2 separate regions of the Homo sapiens genome follow, and region 2 is linked to region 1. The links are contacts of gene promoters, found by promoter capture Hi-C in blood cells and fetal thymus (Javierre and others, 2016). All regions are on one chromosome and are shown on one strand. Each heading gives the region's core, a stretch centred on a gene start or on the middle of the fragment in contact. The rest is flanking DNA. Distances are from core to core; before and after follow the strand shown.

Region 1 (6,150 bases), core at 139-2,638:
TCAGATCTTAAGGTAGCTTTACCAACAAGGGGAAACTTAGGTAACAAATTGTTTTTTTTTTTTAAAAAAGCACAAATTATTCCCACAGCCTCAAAAATCAATTTCTATGGTGCTTTTCTATCACCCTTCTAACAGATTCCTCTTAATTCTAGCAAGCCTCGTATGTTCGCATCATTCAATGCTTTCCGAATCCAATACCCAGAGCCCCACAGACCAGCTACGTATGCTGTTTAAACCCTAGAACTGTCTTGTTCCCGCAATTCAATCAACCCTCACTGAACACCTTTAAGAGGTGGAAACTTAAGGGAAAGAAAACTGTAGCCAACACACGCTGTGGTTCTAAGTATTAGAACGCCTCAAAACAAAGGAAATAACGGCGCCGTAAATGGTTGCCCGCCAATTTCTCCTTCACAATCCCGTGGAAATGCGATGTCCACAAAATCATCTTAACGACTTTGTGGTCTGTCCTAATAGAATACTGATACAGATTTTTGCCTGGGAAGCCCTTTCGGCATCAGAGAAAAGCGCTTCATTTAGGCCAAACACAAAGCCCTCACGCAATCCCCTCCACCTAACGGGCCCAGAACTTAGTCGGCCTTGGATTAGTTTCCATCTTAAGAGGCCCCAAAGACATCCCAGACTCCGTCCTTTCCGTGGAGGCAAAGACGGTCCTTCGTTAACCTAAACACCGGCCCAAAGACCCAAAAGAACGTCGTCTGTCCCCTTGCACCCCACCACGCGGCCTTACGAAGCGCGGCCCGCTGCGGGTCGGGTCCGCGTTGCCGCGCGGCTTCTCCGCCATTTTGTGCCTCTGGCAGCTCGCCCAGCCCGCCAGCCCAAGATGGCTGCGGCGGACCTTCGCAGGAGAGCAACGCCGAAATAAGATATCGCTCCCCTCCCCCAACACCGCGGGGACGCAGCGGCCATTTTCATCTTCCCCCTCTTATAACGGGAAAAACGGCCGTCTCGGGCAGAAGCCACATAAACCCGCCGGGGGCCTCCCTCCTTCACGACCAAAGGCACTAAGGCACTATCCACAAAGGCTTTTTTTGGTTAAATGCTGTCTCCCTTGCCTGCCCTCCCGGCTTCAGACTTCGGAGCCTAAAACGCCCCTGCCTCCTGGCCCGAGGCCGACGGGCCTAGAAAAAGATGCAAGGAGCTAGGACCACACAGCCACCCCCTACCGCAGCTCTACGTACCCGCTCGCCGTAGTTCTGCTCGCCGCTGTCGCTCATGACTCCTGGCTGCTGTCGCCGGTCGATGTGCTTCAATCGAAGCTGCCAACCTCTTGCACCTTCCTTAAGGAGGCTCCGCCGCAGCCCCGCACGACGCGCCGGTCGCCCAGCCGCTCAGAGCCGAAATGCTCCGCACCGCCTCCGCACGGGCTCTAACTCTACCGGATGTGACGCGGCGCTCCTTAGCCAGGCTCCTCCCCTCCCAGAAACGCGCGCTTTCTTGGCCTCGCCCCTCCTCGCTCTGCCTTTCCTCTCCAGCTGCAGCGCGTCCCGCACAGGAAGTGACGTGACCCCGCCCCTCGCAGGGCCCCACCCCCATTCACGAGCCTCTATGAGGCGGGAAAGCTAGCGTGTCGTTTGGCTGCTGTAGTGGGCGCCACGGAGCCACAGTGATGTCACCAGCCACTTCTGAATCCCTTCTAGAACTTTCCAGGGAACCTGCCGAGTGTGCAGGGAGGAAGGAGATGCTGTTTCCCCCAATCTCAATTCCTTTCTCCGCCTTATTAGTTTCTTGTTTTGTGTCTTTCCTTTGTTAGAGAAGTGAATGTTCGTACATTGGGTTCTTACTTAATTTTGTCTTACTTGTAGATATTTCCTTCCTGAATACGTCTTCATTTAAAAAAGGTCAGATCGGGCTGGGCGCGCTGGCTCACGCTGTAATCCTAGCACTTTGGGAGGCCGAGACGGGTGGATCACGAGGTCAGGAGATCGAAACCATTCTGGCTAACCCAGTGAAACTCCGTCTCTACTAAAAATACAAAAAAATTAGCCAGGCGCGGTGGCGGGCGCCTGTAGTCCCAGCTACTTGGGAGGCTGAGGCAGGAGAATGGCGTGAACCCAGGAGGCGGAGCTTGCAGTGAGCCGAGATCGCGCCACTGCACTCCAGCCTGGGCAATAGAGCGAGATTCCGTCTCAAAAAAAAAAAAAAAAAAAAAAAAAGGTCAGATCGGCTGGGTGCGGTGGCTCACGCCTGTAATCCCAGCACTTTGAGAGGCCGAGGCAGGCGGATCACATGGTCAGGAGTTCGAGACCAGCCTGGCCAACATGGTGAAACCCAGTCTTTACTAAAAATACAAAAAAATTAGCCGGGAGTGGTGATGCATGCCTGTAATCCCAGCCACTCGGGAGGCTGAGGCAGGAGAATCGCTTGAACCCGGGAGGCGGAGGTTGCAGTGAGCCGAGATCGGACCGCTGCACTCCAGCCTGGGCGACAGAGCGAGACTCTGTCTAAAAAATAAATAAATAAAAATAAAAAAGGTCGGACCTTAATACACAGGAATCAGACACAATCTCTATTCTAAAGTTACAAAGTAATGTGCTAGAACCGTTAAACACAATTAGAAAAAATGATTGTAAGTGCCAGAGGCATGTATAACTACAGGGGTGTCACAAGGAGGGAAGATTAATTCTGCCATTTCGTAAGAGAATATAGTTGGATTATAGTGAGAAGAGCCCAAGACCAAGTCGGATACTTTCTTTCTTCTTTTTTTTGAGACGGAGTCTTGCTTTGTCGCTCAGACTGGAGTGCAACGGCGCGATCTCGGCTCACTGCAACGTCTGCCTCCCGGGTTCAAGTGATTCTCCGCCTCAGCCTCCGTAGCAGCTGGAATTACAGGCGCCTGCCAACACGCCAGGCTAATTTTTTGTATTTTTTATAGAGACGGAGTTTTGGCATATTGGCCAGGCTGGTCTCCTGGGCTCAAGCGATCCTCCCACCTCGGCCTCCCAAAGTGTTGGGATTACAGGCGTGAGCCACTTCCCCCAACCCCCAAGTCGGATACTTAATTCCTCTACACTTCAGTCTCCCCATCCATTGAAAAGGTGGTACCTGGCTGATGAGGCACTTTGATACTGGTAAAGGGTCATTTGATTTTTTTTTTTTTTTTTTGAGACAGGGTCTCTCTGGCTCTGTCGTGCAGGCTGGAGTGCGGTGGCTCATTGCACCTCCCAGTCTCAAGTGTTCCTCCTGCCTCAGCCCCATATCCCCAACTCCTGATTTTTTTTAACAGCTTTATTGAGATACGACTCACCTACTATGCAGTTCCCTTATTTAAAGTGTACAGTTCAAATGGCTTTTATTCACAGAATTGTGCAACCATCACCACAATTTTAGAGTAGTCTCATCACATTAAGAAAAGAAACACTCATTAATAGTCATTTTGCATCCCTCCTCCTCTCCACTCCTCACAACCCTCCCAGTCCTAGGCAATCACAAATCTTTCTTTCTCAATAGATTAACCTATTCAGGACATTTTATATGAATGGAATCATATGGTATGTATCTTTTGTAACTGGCTTCCTTGGCGTACGTTTTCACGGTTCATCCATGTTGTAGCATGTACTACTATTTCATTCTTTTTCATTGTCAAGTTATATTCAGTTGTATGGATATATGACATTTTATTTATCCATTCATCATTTAATAGACATTTGGATAGTTTCCATTTTTTAACTTATGAATAATCCTGCTGTGAACATTCATGTACAAATTTTTGTACGAGCACATGTTTTTATCTCTCTTAGGTATACACCTAGGAATGGAATTGCTGGATTGTATAGTAACCCTACGGTTAATTTGGGGGGAAACTGCCAAACAGTTTTCCACAGTGGCTGCATTCATTTTACATTTCACACTGCCACCAGCAGTGTATGTGGCTTCCAATTTCTCCACATCCTCACCAATACTTGTTATATTGTATTAAAAAAAATTGACCAGGCGTGGTGGCTTATGCCTGTAATCCCAGCACTTTGGGAGGCTGAGGTGGGCGGATCACCTGAGGTCAGGAGTTTGAGACCAGCCTCAACATGGCGAAACCCCGTCTCTACTAAAAATACAAAGTTAGCCGGGCGTGGTGGTACATGCCTGTAATCCCAGTTACTCGGGAGGCTGAGGCAGGAGAATTGCTTGAACCTGGTAGGCGGAGGTTGCGGTGAGCCAAGATCGTGCCATTGTACTCCAGCCTGGGCAACAAGAGCAAAAATCTGTCTCAAAAAAAATTATAACCACTCTAGTGGGTTTAAAGTGGTATCTCGATGTGGTTTTGGTTTGCATTTCCCTAGCGATAATGATAATGCTTTCATGCGTTTATTGGTGATTTGTAGATCTTTGGAGAAACGAATATTCTGATACTTTGCCCATTTTTAATTGGGTTATTTATCTTTTTATTATTGAGTTATAAGAGCTTGCAATTTGGCTCTTGTTTGGTAAAATAGTCATCCAGAACAGAATCAATATTTGAGGTACCTGAGATCCAGAGATTTGGTGATGACTCAAGTGTCAAGTGACTAAATAACTTCTGAATGAGCTGTCCCCTTTTTCTGAGAACACCTGTACTCCCAACACACACCTAAACCTGGACTCCTACTCAGATCTCTGGCCTTATCTTACTTTTTGGCTTAGATTAGATCTCTTGTTTATACATTCTTATGGCACCCCTTGACATTCATATTACTCACAACTATAATTAAAGAATAATAATTATATAATTATTTTATTTTCATTATTATTTCTTTGTGGGTTTTTTTTTTTTTTTTTGAGACAGAGTCTCGCTCTGGCGCCCAGGCTGGAGTGCAGTGGCGCGATCTTGGCTCACTGCAAACTCCGCCTCCTGGGTTCAAGCAATTCTCCTGCCTCAGCCTCTGGAGTAGCTGGGGCTACAGGCGCCCGCCACCACGCCCGGCTAATTTTTGTATTTTTAGTAGAGACGGGGTTTCACTGTGTTAGCCAGGATGGTCTCGATCTCCTGACCTTGGGATCTGCCCGCCTTGGCCTCCCAAAGTTCTGGGATTACAGGCATTAGCCACTGCGCTCAGCCCTATTTGCATTATTATTTCTGTGAATATAGTTTTTATGTCTGTCTTCCACACTAGATAATAAGTTCCTTAAGGGCAGGGCCAGTGCCTCTTTTGACCACTGCCTTATACGTAGTGCTTGGCACACAGTAAGCCTTTAGTAGTACTTGTTGAGTGATTAAAAGAAAGCAACGTATGAATTTAGAATTGATTGGGTAGGCATCAGGGTGCCTTTAGAGGTCCCTGAGCAGGAGACTAACTTGCTAAAAGTAGGCAAGATTGTCCTGGCAAAGATAGGAAGGTCAGGCTGCAGGTCTTGTGTCATTCATGTCTGTGTCTCCAGCATCTAGCGCAGGGCCATGCTGTTGAATGAGTGGCCATGTGGGATATGGATCCAGTACTGTAAATATGAGGCAGTGAGGATTAGATTCCCAAGGCAGCAAGAATGAGGACTAAGCAGGGAGTAGGGAGACTATGAAAGGGTGGGCTTGACTGGCCAATGTGATAGGAATATGGGGAAAGGGATAGTCAGAAATGACTGTAAAAACCTTGAGCCCTAGGCTGAGTGAGGTGGCTCACATCTATAATCCCAGCACTTTGGGAGGCTGAGGCAGGTGGATCATCTGAGGTCAGGAATTCGAGACCAGCCTGGCCAACATGGTGAAACCCCGTCTCTACTAAAAATACAAAAATTAGCTGGGCGTGGTGGCAGGCACCTGTAATCCCAGCTACTCAGGAGGCTGAGGTAGGAAAATCGCTTGAACCTGGGCAGTGGAGGTTTCAGTGAGCCGAGATTGCACCACTGCACTCCGGCCTGGATGACAGAGTGAGACTCCATCTCAAAAAACAAAAACAACAACAACAAAAATGTCTAGTCCTGGTAGGGGAGATATATACAGAGAAAATAATGCACCCAACAGGGAATGCTGTCTAACAGGCTTACTCCTGTAGCTTAGAGCCAAGCCAGAGGCTGCACTCAAATTTGTTTGTTGTTGTCTCCTTCCAGAGTCATAGACTCTCTCCTCCAGCATTTCTTGTTTAATTTTCAACTTCTGCCCTGGGATTCACTAGTGCATTCTGTCTTTAGTGGGGTTTTTGTTTTTTTTGTTGTTGTTTTGTTTTG
Region 2 (6,766 bases), core at 1,292-3,791, 1.1 Mb after region 1:
GCCTGTCCTCAGGTAAACACTTGCCAACAGTCACAGCCTCTCAGGCACTGCGCGCCCCTCATGGCTTCCTTTCTTTCACTGTCTTCTCAGATTCACCAGCTACAAGTCGGTTTCTTGTTGCATATCATGCTTCTGACCTTTGCTGCGCTTTTGAGCAAAACGGTGACTTGTCAGAAATGTTTTGACAAATGATTAATGTTTTGACCCATGTTGGTTCCCGCTTGATAGAGCTCGGTGGGTAGGAGCTGGGGTGGTAGAGCCAGACAGCCTGGGCAGGCTCCTCTGGGGACTCTGTGAAGCACATGGTGATAACAGTGCTCGCCTTGGGCACTGTTGTTGCTGCAGGAATTAAATGAGCTTCACCAAATTACAGGACCTTTACTGCCTGTAAATTACTTAGCACATAGTAAAAGCTCATTAATTATTAGCTAAAATAAAGTGATAAAAATCTATCATTAAATTGTCAGCACAGCCCTGCAGAGGCAACCTTTTAAGTATTGTTATCCTTCGCAGATGAAGACACAAGGTTCACAGAAACTGACTAATTGGCCTAAGATAACTTACAGTACAAAAGCCAGGATTTCAATCTAGCTTTTTGAGACTAGAGCCTGAGTGAACTGTTTCTCCAAAGCCAAGGCTTCTCAAACTATTGGTGGTGAAGAACCAAATTTTTTTTCCCAATTCCTCTCACATCAGTAGTTACGTAAAATACAATAAAAATGGGGCCAGGTGCGGTGGCTCACGCCTGTAATCCCAGCACTTTGGGAGGCCGAGGCGGGTGGATCATGAGGTCAGGAGATCGAGACCATCCTGGCTAACACGGTGAAACCCCATCTCTACTAAAAACACAAAAACAAAATTAGCCAGGCATGGTGGCGGGCACCTGTAGTCCCAGCTACTGGGGAGGCTGAGGCGGGAGAATGGAGTGAACCCTGGAGGCAGAGCTTGCAGTGAGCCGAGATCTCACCACTGCACTCCAGCCTGGGCGACAGAGGGAGACTCTGTCTCCAAAAAAATAAATAAATAAATAAAAAATAAAAAATAAAATAAACAAATAAATAAAAAAGCATGGATTCCAGAATCATGAAATGAGAAAAAGGACATTTGAAATACAAGCCCCATTTTAAAAAGTATTGATCTAACAGGCATAAAATTACTCTTTAAAATTACTGTAAAAGTCACTTACACTCCATTTCTGTACTTTTCTCATCTTGCATCTTGAAAAGCTTTCTCAGCCTAGCACTTCTCTGCAGATCTCACTTTCAGTAGCACTGTTCTCAGCGACCTGTTTCTCACCACTTGCCTGAGAATTAATTACCTGGGGTGCTTATTAAATGCAGATTTCCAACTTCCCCCCAATATTCTCCCAACCTCCCAGACTACTTGAATCAGAATGATTGAGACAGAATTCAGGAACCCGCATTTTAACAAGTGATTTTAATAATTTGGGTGTGCTCTAAGTCTGAGAATCACTGTGCTCCTCAGTGTTGCCTCCTCTCTACAGATAACAGATAAGAGGGTAAATAGTGAAGTGAGTGCAGTGTTTTATTCCGGCCCCCCTTCTTGCCCCGTCTTCTTTTCTCAAAAAAAATTTTCAAAGGCTTCCTTTCTGTAGAAGCTCACTGACAGAACCGACTTTCCGGACTCAGTGCACTTCAACAAACAGGTATTGAGCTCAAACTGCAGGGGGCTGGGTAGGTGGAGAGCTGACCGCAAGATGCTCACAAGCAGTAGAGGGTGAGTATAGGTAGAGAAAGGGCAGGTCTAGGGCATTTCTGTGCATAAAGTGGGGCAGAAGAGAAGGAGCCAGCAACGAGACCAGTAAGGCATTACCGGTAAGGCAGAGAAAAGCCAGGAGAAGTATAGGTTTTGGAAGCTAGGTGAAGAATATGCATCAAGGAAGAGGAAGTTATGGACTGCTGATGAGCTGAATAAGATGAAGACTGAACATTGACCATTTGGTTAGCAATGTGGAGATCGTGGAGGTCCTTGTGACTCTGACAAGATCAGGTTCATGGAGATGGGGAGGCCTGGTTGGAGTGGGTTCAAGTGAGAGTGGGAAGATAGCTATTGCAAACAAGACTATGGACTGTCTTTCAAGGAGTTTTACTGTAAAGGAAAGAGAAATAAGGCATTTTAAAGAAGAGAAATGAGGTCAAGAGGTTTAGGGTCAGGGCAGGGAAGTGGAGTTTATTTAGAACTCATGCAATAAGTGGCTCAATATATGACTTCTCTAAAGTCATATATCTTTTAGTTAATTCCTTGAGTAAAACAGAAACAATTGTCTATCGTGACTTTTTTCTTCAAGCTCTTTAAAACTCTCCCCACTCCCAAACTATATCACTGTCTAAGAAGAAAGGAGTTTGAAAATCAGTCTTGTTACATAGCTTAATTTGAATACATCCAAAAAATGACATTGCATTATTTTCATATTTGCTGAATCTATTTTTTGGCTGGAGTATTTTAAAGTAGATTTTTAAAGTAGATTTCATCTCTTACTACTTCACATGCATAGGACTTTTTCTTTATATAACCACAATACTTTTATACACCTAACAAAATTAACAATAATTTCTTAATACCATATAATAACCAATCTATGTTCCAATATCCCCATTTGTCCCCAAGGTGAATCAAACCAAGATTCAGACAAGGTGTACGTATTACATATTATTATATCTGCGAAGCCATTTGTTTTTTATTCCCATTTACTTGTTGATGAAACCAGTTCAGTTGTCCCATAGGAAGTCCTACCTTCTGGATTTGTCTGATAATTTTCCTTTGGCGCTATTTGACTTGTTCTTCTTTCTTCTGTATTTCCTAAAAACTGGAATTGTGTATGACAGCTTGATAATATACAGATTAAACATTTTGGGCAAGAATTTTTCATAGGTGGTTAGCAGGGCGTGGTGGTGCACGCCTGTGATCCCAGCTACTCGGGAGGCTGAGGCAGGAGAATCGCTTGAACCTGGGAGGTGGAGGTTGCGGTGAACAGAGATTGTGCCACTGTGTACTCCAGCCTGGGTGACAAAGCAAGACCTTGTCTCTAAAAAAAAAAAGAATTTTTCATAGGTGCTTCATGTCACGTCACATCAGAAGGCACACACTATCTAGATGTCTCACTGTTAATGATGCTAAAAGACTGATCAGGGTCAGGTCACGGCTGCTTGACTCACGAGAGGTGTTTTGATTTTGCTTTTTAAGAGCAGCAGCGTGTCTATATGTTGATGGGAGTAATCTTTGAGAGAGGGATACTTATCAATTAAACAAAGGGGTGAGGTTTTCTAGAACAACTTTCTTAAGTAAACAATAATGTGTAGGATCTAGTGGACAAGTGTTGGTTATTGCAAGTGTTGGACATAGCCAGTTCATCTATAGTAATGAGGCATATGGACATAAATGCAGATAAAGGGGGCTCTGTTAGGGGGTTTGAGGAAGTTCTAATCTGGCAGCTTTTGTTTTCTCCATGAACAAGTAGCAAATTCATCACAGGAGAGGGAGATTGAAAGGAGGAAGTCAAGTAGTGGGCGAGTGCCAGATGAATAGACTGGACAAGTAGCATGTGATTTCTGAAAAGCATTAAGGACCTCCTGGCAGTTAGGGATCGCGAACTTGAAGTGAAATCAGTAAGCATTGTTGTACAATTTTCTCTAGCCATGCTCAGTTGCATGTTTGCTGGTGTGGAGCAGAACAGAGGGTTGGATTTAACCAGGATTGAGTTTTAGCCAATCATGTGTGATCAAAGAGGGCAAAGGACTCATTTTAATGATTTTGACCATGGAATTTAAGCTGTGTAGGAAGGGAAGTAAGAATATGAGGAAAGTGAGGAACAGTGACAGGTGGAAGGATTAACCACAGAAGCTTGTTGGAGTTGGGGTACTAGTTGGAATAGGCTGCATATAGACAGGAGTGGTAATTGGAGATGGGATGCCTGAACTCAAGATTATGGAAGGTATTGTTGGGAAATAACAAGATCAGAGATACAACTCTGGGAGTGAGTGGCCGTGGTCACAATCACTGGGGTAGAGGAGATCAAAGGACTGTGAGGCCAGAGGACTAGAATATCCTAAAAGTGGATATTAATATCACAAGGAGTTATGATAGAAACAGTGTTGGAGCTAAAATATTCAGGCAACGAAGCACGGTATTTTGGGTGGGGGAGAAGATGGCTGCAGCCAGGTAAGTGGGGTCATAGGTAGCGCTGTCTGCACAGGGTCTCTGTGAGGATGACATGCATTGATGCATGTGATGCTCTTCACTTTGAGCCTGACAAATAGCATGTGTTAGAGGTTCAGTCTAACACTTGCTAGAGGCAACAAGTGTTAGAGGTTCACCATCTGAGTCTATGTGGCTCCAGTGAGTAGAGCTTAAAACACTGGGTTTATAGTTATTCATTTTTTATTTTATTTTTTAGACAGAGTCTTGCTCTGTTGTCCAGGCTGGAGTGCAGTGGTGCAATCTCAGCTCACTTCAACCTCCGCCTCCCGGATTCAAGCGATCCTCCTGCCTCAGCCTCTCAAGTAGCTGGGATTACAGGCGCCCGCCACCACACCCAGCTAATTTTTGTATTTTTAGGAAAGATGAGGTTTCACCGTGTTGGCTAGGCTGGTCTCGAACTCCTAACCTCAAGTGATCTGCCCGCCTTGGCCTCCCAAAGTGCTGGGATTACAGGTGTGAGCCACCGTGCCCAGCTGCAACACTGGATTTATTTTTACAGGGAAGTTGATTTTCATTAACTTTAATATATTTCTAAGAGGCAGAGCTACTCACACAGTTGTGTGTGGTCTGGGGCGGTAGTAAATTCCCTGTCATTCAGTGTATCCAACAGGCAAAATGAACATTTGCAATGATGGTGCCGTCAAGGTGATTCTGGCAACTGAAGGTGATGGGTGGGTAGGTGGGAGGGAGTGGCTGTAGCAATTGAAGGCAGTGGGCAGTGGGGAGGGATGGTGTCAGGAGCTAGCTTCATTCTTGCATTCAGACATGACTGAACATTTCCTAGTTGTGGCCCAGGAGCTCTCAATCTGGTTGGGACAGATCTGCAAACAGATAAATGTCACATAGTTTGATGAGGGGAAGAATAGGCACCATGGAGTTATGCTGATCATCTCTGTGAGGCCAAGGAAGCTTGAGAGTCAAGGAGCACTTGAGCTGGTGTTGGAAGCTGAGTGGGCATGGCCCCATGGGAACAGCACAGGAAACCACACTTTGCTGAAGAACTTCTTGTGCAGAGCTGCAAAGGCATGAAAGAGTCTTCGACATTTAGAGTGCCATTCTACTTAATCTGGGCAAATTATTTATCTTCCCTGTCTCAGTTTCCCTGTTTGTAAAAATGGGGGTAGTAATGGTATCCACAGAGGAAGGGATGGTGACTGTTGTAATCCCTTTGAGTGGATTATCTTTTTTTTTTTTTGAGATGGAGTCTCGCTCTGTTGCCCAGGCTGCAGTGCAGTGGTGTGATCTCGGCTCACTGCAACCTCCACCTCCCGGGTTCAAGTGATTCTCCTACATCAGCCTCCCGAGTAACTAAGATTACAGACACACGTCACCACGCCCCGCTAGTTTTGTATTTTTAGTAGAGACGGGTTTTCACCATGTTGGTCAGGCTGGTCACGGGCTTCTGACTTCAAGTCATCCACCTGCCTCAGCCTCCCAAGGTGCTGGGATTACAGGCATGAGCCACAGTACCTGGCCGAGTGGATTATTTTACTTGATTCTGTAAATCACACTATGAGGTAGGACTTGTTATTATTACTATTTCTATTTTATAGATAAAGATGTCTTAAATCTTGGGTCTTAAGGGGTTGAGTAACTTGCTCAAAGTCAGGTAGCTGGTGAAAGGCAGTTTGGGCTCTTGTCTTGATAAATCTGATTCCAAAGCTTGTATTGTTCATCCCTAAGCTATAGTCAGTGCTTGGCACATAGCTAGTGCTAAATAAATGGTAGCTATTATTGCCAGGATTGCTAAAGTTTCTCACCCAGAGAGTTGAGGGTTCTGTTATCACTTCTACAGCTGGTTGAAGATCAGTAGTGCTGCTATCTCATCAGCAGCAGGGACTATTTTTGGAAAGCCCTCATCACCTATGATAAATCTAGATAGTTGCACCACTTTTGTTTCAATTGGTTGATTTTTGAAAATCAAAAATGGAGAGTGATTTTTATCTTCTTAGAGGGCAAGGTTTTTTGAGCAGATGCAGTTGATGTAAGGGAGGAAGAGCTGGGATTGATGTACTTTTCTGTTGTCTGTGGGCTGTATCAAACAAAAAGTTTCATGTTCTGGCTGCCAGCTGGAGGATGGCAGCAAACCAGCATTCACAGGCAAGAGGTATCATCCAAAAGTCTGGTGACTGCCCACAGTGTTTTCTACAGGGGGCTAAGAAAGAGCCTCTTCCATGAGTGATGCCAGGAGTAAGAGCTGTGAACCCGTCACCCATTTATTCATTCAACAAATGCATACTGAGAGCTTATTAAGTGCTAGACATTCATCTAGTGTCTAGAGATACTCCCTGGAAATAATAGAGAAGAAGGTTGACAAGATTCCTATTTATGAAGCTTATATTTTTAGTGGAAGGAGACAGACTAATCAAATACTAAATGAATGCCTGCATAATTACAAACACTCATGCCACAAGGGAAATTCATGCTGTGAAAATGTCAGAGGGATAACTATCAGAGAAATTTTCTGACTCTTCCAAGGATGCTGCCCAGAAAACCGTCCTTCTTTGAGCTGATGAGGAGAGCCCCAAATGTTTTGACACAGGGCAGA

What was found. Contacts are between HindIII fragments. The CHiCAGO score rates a contact against its expected background, and 5 or more counts as called.
Region 2: a fragment that was not itself captured here is called in contact with the fragment with the promoter of TRA2B in region 1 in 1 of 17 cell types (naive CD8 T cells); the score reaches 11.1 in naive CD8 T cells.

The regions. Positions count from the first base shown.
Region 1 is chr3:185,936,626-185,942,775 of GRCh38, forward strand. It overlaps TRA2B (transformer 2 beta homolog), which reads right to left and starts at 1,389. Exons shown (of 9, transcript NM_004593.3): 1 at 1,200-1,389. The coding sequence starts at 1,235. RefSeq lists enhancers at 611-820, 723-1,450, 861-1,320. The HindIII fragment of the contact is 7,639 bases long and covers 1-6,150 here.
Region 2 is chr3:187,026,041-187,032,806 of GRCh38, forward strand. All of the region lies in intron 2 of ST6GAL1 (ST6 beta-galactoside alpha-2,6-sialyltransferase 1), which reads left to right. Among named protein-coding and RNA genes, the nearest start is that of ST6GAL1, 99 kb to the left of the region's middle. RefSeq lists an enhancer at 1-150. The HindIII fragment of the contact is 2,635 bases long and covers 1,225-3,859 here.